2 separate regions of the Homo sapiens genome follow, and region 2 is linked to region 1. Evidence: promoter capture Hi-C in 16 types of primary human blood cells and fetal thymus (Javierre and others, 2016). All regions are on one chromosome and are shown on one strand. Each heading gives the region's core, a stretch centred on a gene start or on the middle of the fragment in contact. The rest is flanking DNA. Distances are from core to core; before and after follow the strand shown.

Region 1 (2,550 bases), core at 18-2,517:
TAAAATGTCTTTGCAATGGCATTATCTAAGCGTAAAGCACTACAGATTCCAAAATAAGTGTGCAGACGTCCTTGAAGTTAAATTTTAAGTGTTTCAAGTACACAATCTTGCTCAACCTTTAAACTCCAAAGACTGTCCTAACTAAAAAGGAAAGAATGATTGACGACTAAGTCTTTTCGGTCGTTCGGCTTTTGCCCTAGCCCAAAATCAGGTCGAATTTTGAGAGAAGTGCGCTGTGATTTAAAAAAAAAAAAAAAAAAAAAAAAGCAAAAAGCCTTTATACTTCACTCCCACCCTAATCTAGCGTCTTCCCGATCCCCAAAGGCTTTAAGGGCTTCCATTAAAGATGGAAAGCGGACGGGACGAACCTGACTAACCAGAAATCCTCACCTGGGGACAGCCGGGGCGCCACGGGCAGTGGGCGCGATGGACCCCTCGGACTAGACACTCAATGCAACTTTTCTCCTCCCAACCCGCGCCGCCCAGGAAAGGGAGGTCACTTTCGACGCCCCGGAAGCCTCTGCCACCGAATCCTTAAGGCAGTGCAAGGCCCCAGTGGCGGCCAGAGGCGGATGAAACCACGGGAAAGGACTCGGGGCTGAAATCAACACACTTGACTGGGTTTGGGGAGCTAAGTCAATCAGCAGTCGCCCGAAAAAGAACTCCGAAAAAGGAAAATAAAAGGGGAAAAAAAGAGTTCCTCAGGTCATTCCCCTGCCCAACTTCCTCAGCGGCCCGGTGGGCGAGGCAGTGAGACTTCCACCGCCCGCTCCCAGCCTCTGCCTCCCCCACCCTCCCGGCTCCCTCCCGGCCTAGGCGGCCGCCCGACACCTCACTTACCCTCGGAGCCTGGCGGGTGCTTTGGCCACGGGCCGCCTCCGCCTCTCCCGCTCCCTACGGCCCGCGGGCGGGCGCGGAACCCTCGCGCGGGAGAGCAGGGCCGGCAGGTGAGAGCCGAGAGAGGCGAGGGACTCTGCTTTCGGTAAATAGGAAGCCCGGTTGGGGGGGCAGGAGCGGCGGCCCCGCAACTTCCCTCCCCGCCTCGAGCGCCGCCGGCCGGGCCCAGGCCTAGCTCTCGCTGGCCGCCACTGCTGGAGCTGGTAACAGAGCCTGCTGTGTGCCCCCGCTGGGCCGCCGCCGCCTCCTGCGCCGCCGCTTCCGCCGGTGAATGGTCAGTGCTGGAGTTTGAACAGGGCCCTGAACCATCTCAACGCCATTTGCGCTCCCGGCCCCCACCTCCTTCCTCCAACAGCCGCTCGCTCCGTCACTCCGCTTCCCACAGTCCCCGCGCGGCCGCCCGACCCCGCAGCCAATCGCGCAGCCGCTTACTCAAACCGCCGCGCAGGCGCTGCGCCCCGCATGCTCCGGCGCCCGCCATTGGCCCGGCCGCGGAGCCCGACGGGAGTTGTAGTCCAGGTCCGCGAGGTCGCGGGCCGAGGACCAGGCGCGGGAGCGGGAGCGGGCGACTGGCCGGGCCCTCCCGGTCTCGGCAGCCACTTCTAGCTCCCGGCCCAGCCGGGAGACGCAGGTGCCACGGAGATGGGCAGCCGGGCGGGTGGCGCAGTGCAGGCAGCTGTATCAATCGCTTCCCCTCCAGGGACCCGCCGGTGCCTGGGGACCGCGGGCTGTGCAGCTGTGCCGGGCCTGCGGAGGCCGCCGCCCGGGAGCTGGGAGGCAGGGGGCGCGTGGTCAAGAGCCGCCCTCGACCTGGCCTGGTCGGTCCTGGCCCGGCGTAGGTGACGATGGCGGGGACCGCGAGGCGCCGGACACCCGAGGCCACGAGCAGCGTCGCCCCTCGCTTTTTCGCGCCCCTCCAGCCCTGCAGTCCTTCCTCTAAGTCCGTCTGCCCCTCACCGATTGAAAGTGGCCCCGAGAATATTGGATGGTATTGAGCAATTATCATTAACTTTGTTGGGTGTGGTAACGGTAATGTGGTTATGGTTTTTTGTTTTTTTTTTTTTAAGACCTACTGATGTGTTGACAGAGTGATCTGGTGTCAGGACTGTAAAATACGCCTATGAAAACTGGGGGAGAGGAATAAAACAAGCTGGCAGAACGTTTTTCATCGTTGAAGCTGCGTGATGCGAGCATATGTGCTCATCATACAGTCTCTTTACTTGTGTATCTGAAATTTTCCATAATAAAAAGTTTAAAGAAGTGAACCAGCGATTGCCTCTAGGGAGGACAGTGAGGTGGCGGATGACGGGAGGAAGGAGTCTTAATTTTTCGCTGTACGCCTTTTTGTGCTATCTTAGGTTTTTCCCATTCAATGTGTTACCTAATTCAGAAAATTGGTAAGTTTTTTTTAAGGCTACCATGGGAAAACAGCGTTCTAAAGAGTAGCGCAACCAGTTCCCCCTAAGAGAGGTGCATGATTCGTCGGACTCCGACAGCCTTGGTGTTTGTTAGGCGGTTAATGGAGACCCACCTGGGAAATTAGAAAACTACTAATTGCTTTCAGTGAGAAGCCCGCCCTTCTCCCACAAATGGATAATTTGCTTTTAATGCACCCAGAAGTTATCCAGCTCCCTCCGGTATAATCGGGGAAAC
Region 2 (2,550 bases), core at 27-2,526, 5.8 Mb after region 1:
CAGGTGATCCACCTGCCTCAGCCTCCCAAGTGCTGGGATTACAGGTGTGAGCCACTGTGCCCGGCCCAGAATGGGGTCTCTTTTTTTTTTTTTTCCTGAGACAGAGTCTCACTCTGTCACCAGGCTGGAGTGCAGTGGTGCAATCTCGGCTCACTGCAACCTCCGCCTCCAGGGTTCAAGCAATTCTCCTGCCTTAGCCTCTTGACTAGCTGGGACTACAGGCACACACCACCACACCCAGCTAATTTTTGTATTTTTAGTAGAGACGGAGTTTCACCATTTTGGCCAGGATGGTCTCCATCTCTTGACCTCGTCATCCGCCCGCCTCAGCCTCCCAAAGTGCTGGGATTACATGCATGAGCCACCACGCCCGGCCAGAATGGGGTCTATTTCTTACGCCTAAACCCTCCCACAAGCAGCTTCCTCCTCTCCTAGGGTAGGGCAAAATTCCTTAAACTGGCCTACAAAGCTCTTTGTTTCACAGCCTTTCACTCACTGATATTTTTGGTTTTCTCTTGCCTCAAGATCTCCTTTCTGTTTCAGTTTCTTCTATTCATCATTTCCTTCACAAGGCATTTGTACACGCTGTTCTTTGGCCTGGAATGTTCTTCCCTCTTCCCTTTATCTAGTTAATGCCTGCTTTTCTTGGGGCCTCGGTATAACAGACACTACCTCAGAGAAACTTTCCATGACCTCCTGGTCTAAGTCAAATCCTAGTTATAATCTCTCACAACACTATGTACCACATTTGCAATTTGATACATTTATTTATGTGATAATCCTTCTCATAATAAACTATAAACCCCACAAACAAGGTAAAAACTGTGCTTGTTTTTGCTCATCATTGTATCTTCAGTCCCTAGCTTAGCGCCTGTCACATACAATCAATATTTTTTAAATGAATTAATAGATTCAAGGTTTTTTAACTATTCTCCCGATTTAACCAGTTGTCTTCGTCCATTTTATGCTTCTATAACAGAACACCTGAGAATAGGTAATTTATAAAGAAAAGAAATTTACTTGGTTCACAGTTCTGGAGGCTGGGAAGTCCAAGATCAAGGGGCATAAACTGGTAAGAGCCTTCCTGCTGCACCATAATATGGCAGAAGGAATCACATGGTGAAAGTGCAAGACAGAGAGCAAGAGAAGACCAAACTCACTTTTATAACAAACCTGCTCTCAAGATAATGAACTCATTCCCTTGATAACTATATTAATCCATTCATGAGGGCAGAGCCCTCACAACCTCATCACCTCTTAATAATCCCATCTCTCAAGACTGCTGCATTAAAGTTTCTTTCTTTCTTTCTTTCTTATTTTTATTTTTTGAGACACAGTGTCACTCGGTTGCCCAGGCTGGAGTGTAGCGGCACAATCTCAGCTCACTGCAACCTCCGCCTCCTGGGTTCAAGTGATTCTCCTGCCTCAGCCTCCCGAGTAGCTGGGATTATAGGCACACACCACCATGCCTGGTTAATGTTTGTATTTTTAGTAGAGATGGAGTTTCACCATGTTGGCCAGGCTGGTCTCGAACTCCTGACCTCAAGTGATTTGCCCGCCTCGGCATCCCAAAGTGCTGGGATTACAGGCATGAGCCACCGTGCTCAGCCAGAATTTAAGTTTCTAACATATGAACATTGGGGGACACATTCAAACCACAGCACCAGCCCTTCATATTTTCCGCTTACATAACAGATCTATAGTTCAAGTTATAAAGGATAACTTCTTTCTTTACATCCTTTCATTCTTACCCAGACCCAAGATCCTTCTTTACCTCTTCACCTACATTAATTACTCCTCTTGCTACAAAGTAGAGCCTAAATTGGTTTTACAAAGCTCTCTTTAACACACCAGTCCACAACAGTTTCCAGTGGAACTTCTACATCACTCTAAATTTCTATGCTGTTTATTTGACACTTCCTCAAATGCTATCATGTTATCATTATACAATATTTCATTATTATACTCTGTTTTATTTGCTTTTTTCTTTTTTTTTTTTTGAGAGGGAGTCTGTCCCCAGGCTGGAGTGCAGTGGTACAATCTCGGCTCACTGCAAGCTCCGCCTCATGGATTCACGCCATTCTCCAGCCTTGGCCTCCCGAGTAGCTGGGACTACAGGCGCCCGCCACCATGCCCGGCTAATTTTTTGTATTTTTAGTAGAGACAGGGTTTCACTGTGTTAGCCAGGATGGTTTCGATCTCCTGACCTTGTGATCTGCCCACCTCGGCCTCCCAAAGTGCTGGGATTACAGGCGTGAGCTACCACACCCAGCCTGCTTTTATTTTTCTAAATATAAACATATTTAGGTATGTAGATTGTATGCCTCTGAAGGGTAGCTATAGGCCAGGCACAGTGGCTCATGCCTGCAATCTCAGCACTTTGGGAGGCCAAGGCAAGTGGATCACTTGAGGTCAGGAGTTCAAGACCAGCCTGGGCAACATGGAGAAACCTCATCTCTACTAAAAATACAAAAATTAGCTGGGCGTGGTGATGCATGCCTGTGATCCCACCTACTCAGGTGGCTGAGGCATGAGAATCTCTTGAACCTG

The links. Contacts are between HindIII fragments. The CHiCAGO score rates a contact against its expected background, and 5 or more counts as called.
Region 2: a fragment that was not itself captured here is called in contact with the fragment with the promoter of WAPL in region 1 in 1 of 17 cell types (neutrophils); the score reaches 5.9 in neutrophils.

What each region holds. Positions count from the first base shown.
Region 1 is chr10:86,520,525-86,523,074 of GRCh38, forward strand. WAPL (WAPL cohesin release factor) reads right to left here and starts at 1,268. Exons shown (of 19, transcript NM_015045.5): 1 at 841-1,268. It overlaps WAPL-DT (WAPL divergent transcript), which reads left to right and starts at 1,423. Exons shown (of 2, transcript NR_186498.1): 1 at 1,423-1,885; 2 at 1,985-2,550. RefSeq lists silencers at 762-1,181, 1,322-1,881. The HindIII fragment of the contact is 16,574 bases long and covers 1-2,550 here.
Region 2 is chr10:92,283,961-92,286,510 of GRCh38, forward strand. The region is part of intron 1 of CPEB3 (cytoplasmic polyadenylation element binding protein 3); the gene reads right to left. Among named protein-coding and RNA genes, the nearest start is that of CPEB3, 5.8 kb to the right of the region's middle. The HindIII fragment of the contact is 3,496 bases long and covers 1-2,550 here.